2 separate regions of the Homo sapiens genome follow, and region 2 is linked to region 1. The links are contacts of gene promoters, found by promoter capture Hi-C in blood cells and fetal thymus (Javierre and others, 2016). All regions are on one chromosome and are shown on one strand. Each heading gives the region's core, a stretch centred on a gene start or on the middle of the fragment in contact. The rest is flanking DNA. Distances are from core to core; before and after follow the strand shown.

What was found. The method cuts DNA at HindIII sites, captures the fragments that hold promoters and counts their contacts. A CHiCAGO score of 5 or more calls a contact.
Region 2: a contact is called between the fragment with the promoter of LTV1 here and the fragment with the promoter of SHPRH in region 1, in 1 of 17 cell types (total B cells). The highest score is 7.0, in total B cells.

Annotation. Positions count from the first base shown.
Region 1 is chr6:145,961,110-145,968,776 of GRCh38, reverse strand. It overlaps SHPRH (SNF2 histone linker PHD RING helicase), which reads left to right and starts at 4,419. Exons shown (of 30, transcript NM_001042683.3): 1 at 4,419-5,046. RefSeq lists enhancers at 3,943-3,992, 3,544-4,531, 4,443-4,662, 4,773-4,902. The HindIII fragment of the contact is 1,513 bases long and covers 3,820-5,332 here.
Region 2 is chr6:143,839,790-143,847,456 of GRCh38, reverse strand. LTV1 (LTV1 ribosome biogenesis factor) reads right to left here and starts at 4,119. Exons shown (of 11, transcript NM_032860.5): 1 at 3,977-4,119; 2 at 2,840-2,971; 3 at 1,233-1,406. The coding sequence starts at 3,979. RefSeq lists enhancers at 3,616-3,685, 3,876-4,085, 4,266-4,315. The HindIII fragment of the contact is 13,446 bases long and covers 1-7,667 here.

The sequences.
Region 1 (7,667 bases), core at 3,170-5,669:
GTTTTAGGTCCTCTTGTTCTCTTACAGCTAAATTGTGGCAAATTACCAAATTTCTGAGTCTCAGATTGCTCTCCTGTAAAATGGAAATTTTAAAAGCCTATTACTAGTCTAGGGATCAAATAAAAAAATAAACATAAAAGGGCTTTGCAAAATATAAAGTTCTTCACTGATAAATCATCATTTATCTTGTTTCTGTCCCTAAAGGGAGTTAAATTTGTCTTAACTCCTCTACTCCCTCTCAACTAGTCCTCCTCCTTGAGAACAACTTAGAATATTCATTTGTAAAATAGATGCCCCAGTTAGGGGTATGGCTAGAATAAAGCCACTGTCCCTAAAAGAAAATGAACCTACAGCTAAAGCTAGTGAGACCATACAAGGAAGAAAGTGGTCTGACTGATCTCATGTTATAGTTTCAAGAAGGAGCAGATGAACTCCGTGAACACTGAGTTATTCACTGTCAAGATGCACGATGTCCAATCAGTTCATTCTGATTTGCGGAATGTCATTAGATCACTAGCATCTAATAGGTGGATGAACTCAGTGTACTCAGGGGTGAACAGGTGTCTCACAGCTGGGAGCTGCCAGAGAGCCAAGGTGCAATCATGAACCATGTTTTCTGAAATTAGCTCTGATGAAAAATATTATTCCAGAGAGAAATTTTTCAAAGAATAGGCAGAGCATTTGGTAAATATAGGATTGAACACTGGAAAATTTAAAAGAATTTTGTTTCATTCTAATCACTGAATGGTAGTATACAGAATTCCATCTCTACAGTTGAAATTGCATCTCCATACGACAGACAACTGGATCTGAAGTTTAATATCTTGCATGGACATTACCATGATTACATATATAAATTACCCCAATCAAGGTGAACAAAGGTGAAATGATGCTGTGCTTATTTTTAAATATTTCTGCCTAGCACTAGTTGGATAGACTCAGCCAAACTTTGGGCCTAATTATCTGCTCCAATGATGAGAAGTGACATAAAACTATCAAAGATAACCTTACTCAGCACATCATATGTTTAAATAGCAAGTTGCAAATTACACTTTCAGAAGCAAGGTTACATCACCTTGTATTTGATAAAATGATTGGTTTGCCAAGGAAGGAGGATCCTACTTGCCCACTGTTCCAGCATTAGCACTACTTTTTCCAGCTTGCCTCATAAATCCTGGAATAAGGTAACTGATTTCCATCTATAGGCATACCTTGGAGATATCACAAGTTTTGTTCCAGGCTACCACAATAAGGCAAATATTGCAATAAAGTAAGTCACAGGATATTTTTTTTGTTTCCCAGTGCATATAAAAGTGACACTGACACTACAATGTAGTGTGTTAAGTGTGCAATAGCATTATGTCTAAAAAAAGTATCTACCTTAACTTAAAAAATATTGTATTGCTAAAAAAAATCTTGCTTAAAAAATATTGCTTAAAAAAGTTGGCTGCAGCAATTGACTCTTTATTTCACAAAATATTCCTCCATGATATGAACTGCTCTTTGATAGCATTTTACCAACAGTAGAACTTCTTTCAAAACTCAAGTCAATCCCCTTAAACTCTGGACTGCTTTGTCCACTAAATTTATGAAATATTTTAAAATCTTTGCTGTCATTTCAACAACGTTCACAGTATCTTCCCAGGAGTATATTCCATCTCAGGAAACCAGTTTCTTGGCTTATCTATAAGAAGTAACTCTTCATCCATTAAAGTTTTACTATGAGATTGCAGCAGTTCTGTCATATCTTCAGACCCCACTTCTAATTCTAGCTCTCTTGCTGTTTCCACCACATCTGCAGTTACTTCCTCCATTGAAGTCTCAATCCCTTCAAAGCTGAGACTTTGAGTTCCTGAGAGATGGAATCAACTTCTTCTAAACTACTATTAATGATATTTTGACCTCTCCCACCAATCTCAAATGTTGTTAATGACATACAGAATGGTGGATGTTTTCCAGAAGTTTTTAATTTACTTTGTCTAGATCTATCAGAAGAATTCCTATCTATGTCATCCATAGCCTTATTACTTCTTAAATAATAAGATGTCAAAGTTAAAATTACTCTTGATCCATGGGCTGCAGAATGGGTTTTGTGTTAACAGGCATGAAAACAACATTAATCTCCTTGTACATCTCCATCAGAGCTCTTGGGTGACCAGGTGCATTATAAATGAGCAGTAATATTTTGAAAGGAATCTTTTTTTTTTCTGAGCAGTAGGTCTGAACAGTGGGCTTAAAATATCCTGTACATCTATGCTGTTAAGTAGATGTGCTGTCATCCACACTTCATTGTTCCATTTATAGAGTACAGACAGAATAGATTTAGCATAACTCTTTAGGGCCCTAGGAGTTTCAGAATGATAAATGAGTATTGGCCTCAAATTCAAGTCATTAGCTGCATTAGCCCCTAACAAGAGAGTCAACCTGTCCTGTGAAGCTTAGAAGCTATGAAAGTCCTAGATGGCCTTTTCTTTCTATAGAAAGCTGTCTTATCTACATGGAAAATCTGTTGTTTTGTGTGGCCACCTGCTTCAATTATTTTAGCTAGATCTTCTGAAAAACTTGCCACAGCTTCTACATCAGCACTTGCTCCTTCACCTTGTACTTTGATGTTATGGAGATGGCTTCTTTTCTTAAATCTCATGAACCAACCTCTGCTTGCTTCACATTTTTCTGCTACAGCTTCATCACCTCTCTCAGCCTTCACAGAACTGAAAAAAGTTAGGGCCTTGCTCTGGATTAGGCTTTGGCTTAAGGGAATGCTGAGGCTGGTTTTATCTTTTATTCAGGCCACTAAAACTTTTTCCATATCAGCATGAGGCTGTTTCGTTTTCTTATCATTTGTGTTTTCATTGGAGTAGCACTTTTAATTCCCTTCTAGAACTTTTCCTTTGCATTCACAACTTAGCTAACTTTGGTACAAGAGGCCTAGCTTTTGGCTTATCTCAGCTTTTGACATGGCTTCCTCACTAAATTCCTTCGGTTTTCGATTTAAAGTGAGAGATGTGCCACCCTTCCTTTTACTTGAACACTTAATAGTCCATTGTAGGGTTATTAATTGGCCTAATTTCAATATTGTTGTGTCTCAAAGAATAGGGAGGCCTGAAGAGAGGAAGAGAGACAGGCGCCAATAGTGAAGCTTTCAGAACACACACAACATTTATTAAGTTTAGCATCTTCTATGAGCAGAGTTTGTAATGCTCCCAAAAAACTACAATAGTAACATCAAAGATAACTAATCATAGATCACCATAACAGATGAACAGCAAGTGAACACATGCTGCTTGAAAAATGATGCTGACAGACTTGCTTGAGTAAGGTTGCCAAAAAACTTCAATTTATAGGAAAACATATTATCTGCAAAGTACAATAAAGGGAAGCAAAATAAAAGGAGGCGGGGATTTGCTTATGGAAACAGCTTCGTATCTGTGATAAAGGAATATACTAAGTAAAATATGGACTACCCTGGACTGTCTAACACAACTACAACCGATATTCACTTGGACAAGAACTTAGTTCAAGTGCTTCTGTGGTCACACAACCCAAAAGGCCTCCACAGCAGAAAAGCTGCTATTAGGTACTCACTAACTAAGTACTGAGTCCCCAGTGTTTCCTGAGGGTTATTTCACAGGCTCCTGACCCTGAAGCCTCTCAGAGTTATTCCAACATTAAGGTCACTTCTATGAGGAAGAGGTGAGAGGAAAAAAGACCAATAGTGGAAGGCCAGCTTCAGCGCAACACATGTATTTAATAGTTTCTCTCATCTTTGAATATTTATTCACATTTCCCTTTAAAGTCTGTTTTTGAGGGGGAGAAGCTTTATTCGTACCTACTTAGTGGCTGCTTTATAGCAGTAAAATAGATGCTTTTGCAGAATTCTTTTCTGCTTTTCTTTTGTGAGACGGAGTCTCATTCTATCACCCAGTGGGGAGATGTCGGCTTACTCAATCTCTGCCTCGCAGGTTCAAGCATTCTCCTGCTTCAGCCTCCCGAGCAGCTGGGACTACAGGCGGGTACTACAGGCGCGCACCACAACGCCCGGCTAATTTTTGTATTTTTAGTAGAGACGGGGTTTCGCTATCTTGGCCAGGCTGTTCTCCAACTCCTGACCTCAGGAAATCCGCCCGCCTCGGCCTCCCAAAGTGGTGGGATTACAGGCGTGAGCCACCGCTCCTGGCCCCTGCCTTTTTATTAGAGATACAAATCACACACGCCCTTCGCTTCAAGGGGAGCCCCGCCCCCTACTTCGGGCATTCGGCCATCCTGTGTTCTCTAATGGCGTGGGGCAGAGCTATCGCGAGACTCCACTGTATCCTCAGCAAGTTTTTAACAGTGTGAACTTGCGCAGAAGAGACTCATGAAGCCAGCGCAGGAGAAAGGGGGCGGGGTGCTCTGACGAGCGCGTTCGCCTTGACCCCACGCTACAGCGCGCGCCCGGCAGCTAGGCGCTGTGGTTTCTGGGTCTCCCGGGGGACCCCTACACGTTCCGGCAAAAAGCGCTCGTGCCCACCTCAAGCCCATGTTCGGTGGGTGGCGAATGCGTGCCCGTGATCTGCTGGGTCTGTAGAGGAGCGCAGGCCTGGTGCAAACAGACTCAAGAGGCTCGGAGAACCAGCTTGGGTAGGCGCTTGGGTGATGGAAGGTCAGGGGTCAGAGGTCGGGAGGGAGGGAGGGAGGTGGTCTTTGGCCTCCGGGACCAGGGAGGGAGGACGCTGGTTGTCCTGGAGCCCGGGAAGCTCAAGGGCTGAGAGGGAGCCGCTGCGCGAGTCTTCCCCACCTCTTCCCGATCCCGGACTAGCGAACTTCGGACCACCACGTCCCTCCGGGGATAAAGTGGGGTCGTGGGAAAGGAGGCTGTGCTTCTCCTCATGCACTGGGGCCTGCGGTGTTTGTCTCGAGCGTCCAACACACTAGGATCCGGGAGTCCGTCGTCACGCTCCTTGGCCTCGCGGTCGCTTGTTTGCTCGGCCTGCTGGGAGCGATCCGGCGCTGACAGCCCCGCTCAGACTCCGGGAGCCGCTTGTGGGTCTTTCGGAAGATAACTGAGTGGGTACCGTGCGCCGCAGATCTACCCCCGGAGGCTGGAACTGGGTCGCCGCCTCCCTTCTTTGTGCGCGGCATTGTATTAGTAAAAGGGGAGGCAGAGGTTTCTCAGTCCCACTCAAAGTTCTCCGTTACCTTTGGAGCCAGATTAATTACATTCGAATTCAGAACCACTCTTTGACATTGTACAGTTTGACTGGTAGTTGCTATGTTTATGAACGAAGATAGGGTGTTATTTGATGATTAATAGTCACTGTATAATGATCAGTTAAATAATGACCAGGAAGCTTGTGCCCTTTTTCCAAGTAGTTTGACATTAGCACGAGGTAGAAATCCGAGATGTTTGATGCCTTCCAACTTGTACTTAAGGAACTTAAGGAACTTGGGGCTTTTTCTGAACAAAATAAGATAAAGTTATTACTGTTACTTTAAATTATTCCAGTGGGCATTAGTAGGAATGATGAAACTCTTGAATAGAAACGATCCATGATATCTCTACTGTCACAAAAAAGACTATTTAGTTTATGATTAGTAAACATGCTGGAGACAGAGCAGTCCTGAGCAGTATTGTAATGATTATGTCTGTGCTCGATAACCTGCACTTTCTAGAGCTTTAAAGGACCAGTTAACCAGTAAGCTGGCAATTGAGAATAAAATAGTTTACTTTTGAGAGATGCTCTTGTATATCCTCTTTGTCCACCCGAAAGGAGCTGGACTTACAGAATTATTAAAACAAAACTTTTATTATTAAGAGTTTAGGCCAGTAAGATTTAGGGGAAACAATTTGCTGGTGAAAAAGCTTCTTATGAGGGCATTTTTAAAGTTTATGTAACTAGCATATTTTAGCATTCAGTAGAAGAAAATACTCTCACCTTGCTGGAATTATTTCTACAGAAAAGGAAAAGATTATGTTAACCCTGGGTCATTAAGAGCTTCCTAGTACTTAGTAATGAGTGGGCTTCATTTCCATAACACAACATTTTGGACAGGAATATGGCAAGTATGTAATCCTTTTTGCCCTTAATAGCCTAAACCCAGATCTACCATGGATTTGTTGTAATTCAAGATTTGTGTGTATCTTTTAAAGAGGAAATAATATTTTGGAGGGAAAAAATGTGAATTTAAGTTGTGTTATTCATTTGTTGGATTGTCTTAGTAATGTAACATTTTATGTTTATTTTTCTAGCATTCCATCCTTGTTTTCTGTTAAAGATACAGTTCAGGCAGTTTTCCCTGCCTCGTTCTAGTATTTCATTTTTCTCAGAAATACTAGTTTCATATTACCTATAGTCTTCTAGAATGTGGATAAGAGAGACTTCTCCAAAAAGAAATAAGAGTAAAGTATCGTTAGGTCCTCAAAAGGAGGGAATACATCCACGGAATTAGAGATCTTTGTTTCACCCTTTTTGTATGTCTTTACTTCCTAGCACTGACCTGGCATTGGGAGTACAACACTGAATAGGATACTACTCCTGCCCATCTTTCAAAGTGAACACTCTAGCAGTTGGGATCGAGGAGAGAGAGGCCCTTAACTCAGCTTCTCTAGTCATGGAAGCCTTTCCAGGGAAGATTGGGATGGAGACAGGCATAAAAGCAATTCAAGCAAAAGGCTTTTATATTTAAATACAAGACAGTAAAAGTGCGGTCCATATAGAAAACTTCACATAATTACGTTTTACCCAAACACTGCTAATTAAGGAGGAGGAAGAAGTAGTTGTGACTGATAAGGTATGAATAAAACCAGAAGAATATGGGATGTGGTTAGATACAGAATTTCACCAGTACTTGACTTACTAGTTGCCAAATTGCATTTTAGTCATAAGTATATTTGACCAAATACTATTTTCTTTGGTTCAAGAAGTTAACCCTGAATAGAGATTTCCTTAAGTAAAGACTCAGTCAAAACCAGGAGCTTTTTGTTTGGTTGGTTGATTTTTGATCATGAATGTTTACTCAGTTAAGAACTGGACAAAGGGAGAGCATTGCTAGAAATTCTGGTGTTGACTTTTCTGCAGTTTATCATTATCACTGATAAGTACCTTGAGGCACTAATATTGGAAGAATCAGGCTGAAAGAATACATCTGAAGGAATGTGCAAATTATAATGGTGTACATAATTTAAAAGATACTGGATAGGTTTTACCAGAGAACAGAATAAATAGTTGAAGTAATGTTTTCTGGTTTGGTAATATGTCTGTTACAAAATTATTGTGGGAAACATGGCACATATTACTTCTCACATTCCATTGGCTAGGACTGGTCACAGGACCAAACCAAGCTGGGCAGTCATTTCTCAACTACTCTATACTTTGAGTGGAAATAAGTGGATTTTAGTTGGCAGCTGGTTATCCATAACAAGGTTTTTTGAACTTGGCTGCACCCTGGAATTTTTTAGGGATTCTAAAAAATAAAGGGAGTAGTGCCTGGGCCCTTCTCCAAGACATTCTGACTTAGTTGGCTCGACATCAGGATTTTTTTAAGTTCCCCTGGTGATTCTAATGTGCAGTCAAGTTTGAGAAGCACTAATCTGTGGTCCCCCATCCTGCGACATTACAGTTTGGTTATTGTGAAATGTGGTTTAGAGCAGGGGTCCCCACCCCTCAGGCCATGGACCGGTGCCAGTC
Region 2 (7,667 bases), core at 2,870-5,369, 2.1 Mb after region 1:
CCGGGAGGCGGAGGTTGCGGTGAGCCGAGATCGTGCCACTGCACTCCAGCCTGGGCAACAGGAGCAAAACTCCGTCTCAACAACAATAACAACAACAACAAAAGTTAGTCTTGTACTGGTCAATACAAGCCAGGCAAGACTTTACTAAGAATTTTCTCCCTTAGATAAACAAGTTGAGCCACTAAGGAACCCCTTCTCTCCTTCAATAGGTTATAGAAGCAAGTGAGCCAATAAGTCCCTACTACCAATAAAGCCTTGAGGAAGAAGGAATAAAGAAGTTGGTTCTCTATGACAGAGATGTGGTGGGATTTGGGGCGTTACAAAAGAGCCACAACCTACTTAGTGAACGAGCAGCTGCAGTTATTACCTTTCTTTGGGATGGTATCCTGAAACCTAACCTTTCTGAGTCTCCTTAAGCAACAAGCTATTGCCTATAAGAACTACAATCACATCTTCCCCAAGGAAAGGAATGCCTAGACCATGACAGAATTGGGGAATGAGGAGCAGGGTAAACTGGTGCCCTTTCTATCTCTTACCTTTTGCTTATAAACCTAATGAATGTCTCCTTTTTTTAAAGTGCTAGGTGATATAAAAGTTTCCCACAGGAAAATTTACTCTACATCAAATTAAAAATAAGGTCACGGAGGCATACAACATGGGCATTCTTAACATAAACAGGGGAGAAAACAGAACTTAGACTAACAGCACTAATTTCTTATAAACACGTACTATCATTTGTCCTGAAAGAGAAGGTATTAAAGTGGACCGAACATTTGTTTACAAGACAGGAATGTTATTATCATCCACTCATTCTGTTTGCTTATGAGTAGCCTGCAGCTTTTACAAAAGTGTTAAAGATCTGAATATTCCACAAAAGTTAAGTCCTATCTTAGAACAAGAGTTTATGATCCTGAAAACAGTTATGTTGTTAACATGTAGAATGTCAGCTGCTTTTCTCCTATTGAAAAGTGCTGTCTAACATGGCCATGTCTATCAATCAAAAGTTCTGAACCTATAAAAAGGCTGTTACTGTTGACACCTGCCACCAGAGAAGACGTGACCTATTCTCTCCTGATGGTATACACATGCATACACATATATAATTTTAAGTGGAGGCGTGGTCTATCTTTGTGCTCTTCATACGGACACCATTTCTTGCCCCAAACAGATATCTTGATTCAAAAATGATTTCTTCACCTCACTCCCACAATTAAATTGCTGAAAAGCCTTACTGGAATTACTAGCGTTTCTTCTTTCTCCTCTCTCCTGTTGTGTGCACTGAAGGTACTTGAGGGAATAAGCTCTGAAGGCCCAGATGGTTCCTTCAGGTGCTGCAGGTAGTCATAGTCGTCATCAAAGAACACTCCATACTTCCTCTGTTCTGCTCGCCTTTCTTCATTGTCTATCTATAAACGAAATGGAATTAGTACTTTCTTCACTATCTATAAACAAAATGGAATCAGTAAGCCTTCCAAGGATAAGGCATGGGAATATTACAATGAGTACAGCTTTCCAAGTAGGAGGCAGATGGCACATGAACATTTTGGCTGATGGGAAAAAGACAAAGAATTCTTGACAAACAGGAAATGTACAGCTTCAAAACCAGAGTGCTACGTAACATTAAAATGGAATGAAAACATTCATGCTTTTAAAAGGGCAATAAAAATAAATAACAATTGCTCCTTCCACTAGACATTTCTGTGCAACATTTTGAGTCAAGAAACAAACATACAATTTATTTTATCATCTATTTGGAGGGTTATAAGAAAAGACCTGGGGGGCCAGGTGCAGTGGCTCATGCCTATAATCCCAGCACTTTGGGATGCTGAGGTAGGAGGATCACTTGAGCCTTGGAGTTCAAGACCAGCCTGGGCAAAATAGTGAGACCTCGTTTCTACAAAATAATTTTAAAAATCAGCCAGGCCAGGTGGCGTGTGCCTGTAGTACCGGCTACTCTGGAGGCTAAGGTGGGAGGATCGCTTGAGCCCAAGAGGTAGAAGTTGCAGTGAGCTGAGATGGAGCCACTTTGCATGCCAGCCTGGGAAACAGAGATTTGGGCGCCTTGAAAGGTAAGTACAATTTCTTGTATTTATATGCAAAAAAACCCTTCTCAACATACAACAAAACTGGCTTTACTGAAAAGCTAAACGTGGCCCATGTCCCCCAGTACTCTGTTTCCCAACACTCTGTTTCATAATATCTACACTTAATAAGTGTTGTGTAACATTAAGAGTCTTAATAAGTAGAGTCTAACATTAAGTCAATCTTTACCAGGCTCCCTTGCAAAGTTCCCTGAGCTAACCAAGGAGCTCAGATATTTTACATTTCCTAAGATGAGCAAGCAGGAGGCAAAATGCAGTTTGCGGTTATGAAACGGCAGGATCTTAGAGAAAGCACAGTTTGAGCATATATCGGTGCCCTAAATAACATCATGCCGCATTGTAGCTGGTGCTTTGGTAAATATTTACCATTATTCTACAAGATTTGCTCGTTTAAACATCTCAAATAAAGATCTTTGTCTTCCCAATCAAAATAATGTGAATGATGTAAAAATCACCAATTGTACTGAAAATTAACTTATAGATTATTTCCCAGAATATCAGTTATCTGAGAATAACAGCTGGCTAACAATTTATTAAAAACTATTAACATAGCAAGGCGTGGTGGCTCATGCCTGTAATCCCAGCACTTTTGGAGGCCAAGCTGGGAGGACTGCTTAAGTCCAGGAGTTCGAGACCAGCCTGGGCAACGTGCTAAGACTCTATTTATTTAAAAAAAAAAAAAGAAAAAAAAAACTATTGTCTACCTACAAACTGACTGGCTAAAGAACAGGACCTACTTTTTGTGTGGGCAATAGAACCCTCTGGGGTGCACTCTCATCTGCTGCTAAAGGATCTCGTTGGCTCCGGTGGACCAAGTGAAAAGACACAGCTTTCTTCTTCTCTATAAAGGGCTTTTTCTTCCTGTGAGGCTTCAAAGGAACAAAATCACAACAATTAATTAAAACAGAACAAAAAGACGGAGAATAATTCCATAGTCCACACATGCATCTTTAGTAGTCATGTTAAAGATACTTTTTAAAAATCTACACTTCTAGGGCAGGCAACATCAGCTGTGTTCTGCAGAATCCATACTTAACCTTCCTTCAACAAACATTCCTTGAGCACCTACTTTGTGCCAGACCTTGTTATGGGAACTGAGAATACAGAAGTGGGAAAGTCAGATAAAGTCCCTGTTCTTAGCAAGAAAATCAAGATAATTTCCGGTGAAGAAAATATAAGACAGTGACGTGAAAATGCCTTAAAAGCTACTTTACACTGGCTGCTCAGGGAAGGCCCCTGGCCGACTGAACTAGAATGACAAGAAGCCTGCCACAACATAATCTGGAGTAGACAGCTCCACACAGAGCATCTACCAACCAGTAAATAAAATCACGACACAAACAGCTAAAGTTTAATAAGATCCATCACCTCTTTCTACATTCTTACTTCGCTATTCAATTTTGATTCTCTAAACTGGGAAACCAATTAAGTGGCTTTACTTTGGGCCCAACCTTATGCTCTCCCACAAGTTCCCTTTCTCAGAGGAAACAGACAGGCAGACACCTGCCACTCCAACGCTGAGGGAGACCAGCAGCTCCCTCTGCTCGACCCCAAGAAGCACAGGGTTGCGCGTTTGTGTCGGCAGTCACCAGCTTTTAGTTAACCGAAATCACGCAGGGCTGCAGGCTCCCAGGGATAAAACAAAAAGGCCATTCTCCTCTCCGGGCCACATCCCAGGGAGGCTCGGCGGTGGGAGACTGTAACTTGCAAAGAATGCCCACGGTGGTGACGTTGGCCCATTTCGGGGTACCGTGCCGCAAGCAGCCTCTGGCATGACCCAGACCCGGGCCGCAGTAGCCAAGGTATTACCGGAAGCAGCCTGGCCTCTGCAAAACCACAGCGCTCGGCCGCCGAAACAAGCAAGGCTTGCTCACCATGCTGCAGCCGCGCGGCGCTCACCCCCAACAGGGGCGGCGATGACACCCTCGAAGTCCGGCGGGGAGACCAAGGTCCAGCTGAAGGCCGCTTCTGTAGGCCTCACCACACGTGCAGCCCCAGGACCCGGCGATAACGTCACCCAGCCGGCCGTGGAAACGGACCAATCGCCGAGGAGCTGATGGGTCGCGACCGGAAGTTACATAGGCTCGCTGCGTCTCCACGATCGCGAGAAGCCACCGGGAGGTGGGGCTAGCTCGGCTCCCACCCCTGGGCGGGCTGTACTTTTCCGGCCTTTAGTCTCCCGCCGGGCAAAGGGAATCGTGGGGGTCCTTAACGTTGAGGCGCCACAGAGGGGTTTCTGCTTGTGGACGAACCTTTTATAGCTCCCTCTACGGAGACCAGAGGGGACGAATCTAGCATCCCCCTTGACTTGTGTCCCTTACCTATTCCCAACCATAAAAAACAAAGCCGCGGACACGGAAGGGAGGCGACCACCCCGCTGGGGTGCTGGGGTCGCCAAGTTTCAGGTTCCCTCTCCGGGTGGGGGCGGAGTCGGTTGCCGTAGCAACGGAGGCTGGGGCCTTGCCTTTATAGACTGCATCAGACTTGATCAGGTTATATTTTCCACTGTTTCATGAACTGCTTTCATCTGCCCTGTTAACCAAACCCCCGAGACTCTGTTAACTGTAGAGGCATTTGAACTAATAAAATATATTCAGAATCTCTGGTGTTTGAATGTTAACTTTCTCCCCCTGTTTAAACAAATAGGCTATAAGCACGCATTCTTAGGAAGATTTCAGGCCGGCGTTGGCGTACTCACATAGCTTTTCTTGGACGAAAGTGTGTGGTAAATGCAGTCACTTTCATCAGCAGACCTTTTTTTCAAATTTGTTTCCCCAACTTCCCAGTTTCTGGTGACCTCTCAATGAATGGCTTACCCTGGATTGTGTCTTTATGCCGTAGGCATTATCACTGTAAGTATTTGTGGAGTATTATTCTTTTATTACAGTAAAAATTATAGAAATAGGCCAGGCGCGGTGGCTCATGTCTGTCATCCCAGCACTTTGGGAGGCCGAAGCGGGTGGATCACCTGAGGTCAGGAGTTCAAGACCAGACTAGCCAACGTGGTGAAACCCCGTCTCTACTAAAAATACAAAACTTAGCCAGGTGTGATGGCAGGTGCCTGTAATCCCAACTACTTGGGAGGTTGAGGCAGGAGAATAGCTTGAACCCGGGAGGCAGAGGTTGCAGTGAGCTGAGATCATGCCATTGCACTCCAGCCTGGGCGACAAGAGCGAAACTCTGTCTCAAAAATATATATATATAGAAATAATTTAGGTTAGGACCATAAAACTTGTCTTAGGATATTGCTTTGTAACAGAGATAATACATAGCACTCCTATGTGCCAGAGATTCGTTGTTATTATTCATTATATAGAATTAAAAGATCCAAGGGGGCAGTTTTCATTTCCTTTCAATCAGTTGTACTTACTGCTGTATCATCAGGGGCCTGATGCATGGGGCATATATGCTCAGTAAGTATTTATTTAAATGAATTAATGTTCTGGCACTTTATCTGAATCATCTCATTTCATCCTCACTGCAACACTATGAAAGAGACGCAATTATCTTCAGCATCTTACAAATCCTAAAAATGAGGCAAGAGAAATACAAACTAAGTACTAAGCCCCCCAGCTGACTGAACGGACTCCCTTTTGGCCAAGGGGACCCAGAGTAACCTTGAAAACTGAGTTCTTGCTTTGCCTTGTTATATCCCCTCCCTCACTAACCAGGATCAGGCTTTCTTCCCTAAGGGATAAATAGAAACCATCCCTTTCAAAAGACTCCACCACTGATATCAGCCTGTTGCTGCCCTCCGTTTTGTGCGTAACAGACTACCCACTATGGAATGGTTCTGGCCAATCTACGGAGCAGGCACAGTAAGGGTTTTATTGGCCTCTACTTCACCTTTTGACATCAGAGGCTGAAAACTCTTCAGATCATGCTGATGCCCCATTGTTTGTACCTAGGACCCATGAAGGGGCAATGAAGCTCAATTGCACATGTACATGTTTCTCCTTTCATAAATATTCATGATTCCTCCTATAGCTTATTAAATATGTATATTCTGCCACCCTGCTTCCTCTCACTTTGTCCCTCCCTCAGAATGTATGTTTTTGGCTTCAGGCTGGAGGCTACGCTTCCCAGCCTGTCAGGCCACTCTGCAGGCTGAAACCCTTATGCACCTCATCGTTCTTTAGGTCAAAAGCATAAGAAAGTTACCTTCTGATATGGTTTGGCTGTGTCCCCACCTTGGTTTGGTTGTGTCGCCACCCAAATCTCATCTTGAATCATAGCTCTCATAATTCCCATGTGTTGTAAGAGGGACCCAGTGGGAGATAATTGAATCATGGGGGCAGTTTTCCCCATACTGTTCTCATGGAAGTGAATAAGTCTCATGAGGTCTGATGGTTTTGTAAGAGGTTTCCCCTTTCACTTGGCTCTCATTCTCTTTTGCCTGCTGCCATGTAAGACATGCCTTTCGCCTTCCACCATGATTGTGAGGCCTCCTTACCACTTGGAACTCTGAGTCCATTAAGCCTCTTTTTCTTTGTAAATTACCCAGCCTCCGGTATGTCTTTATCAGCAGTGTGGGAACGGACTGATACCCTTTCTTAAGGTCATATCACTAGTAAATGGCAGAGCAGAGATTTAAACCTAAGGAGCCTAACTAGAGCCTGGCCACCTAATCATGTTGCTTGTTTGTTTTTTTCTTCTGAGTAATATTCTGCTTTGTTTTTTCTGAGACAGGATCTTGCTCTGTCAACCAGGCTGGAGTGCAGCGGTGTAAACATGGCTCACTGCAGCTTGACCTCCTGGGCTCAAGCAATCCTCTAACCTCAGCCTGCTGAGTAGCTGGGACCACAGGTGTGTGCCACTATGCCCGGCTAATGTTTTTATTTTTTGTAGAGATAGGGGTCTCACTGTGTTGCCCAGACTAGTCTTGAACGCCTGGACTCAAGTGAGCCTCTCACCACAGCCTTCCAAAGTGTTGGGATTACAGGCCACTGTGGCCAGCCTGCTTACTTTATATATTTGTCATTCTAAACACTAAACACACAGTGCTAAGCACTTTTTATTCATGATGTCTAATTCCCTCAGCAAGCCAGTGAAGTACAATTAAATGACACTAAACCAATCTTGCAGATGTGAAATCTGAGGTTCAGAGAATTGAAGTTATTTACTTAAGGTCACACAGTAAGTAGAAAAGCCTAGAAGTGTAGTCCATCAGGCTTGTTTAGGAAGGCCATTCCCTTATCCATATACTATACTACCTCCCTGAGGCAGTCAACCAGCAAATTTTGTTCATCCTGCTTTCTAAATATCCACATGTATCACTTCGTTATTCATTTTATCAAATTTATCATTTTAAACTCAAGTCACTTTCCTGTATAAAATCCTTCGATGGGCCAGGCGTGGTGGCACACACCTGTAATCCCAGCACTTTGGGAGGCCAAGACAGGCGGATCACCTGAGGCCAGGAGTTCAAGATCAGCCTGGCCAACATAGCAAAACCCTGTCTCTACTAAAAAATACAAAAATTAGCCAGGCATGGTGGCACACACCTGTAGTTCCAACTACTTGGGAGTTTGAGGCAGGAAAATTGCTCGTACCCAGGAGGCAGAG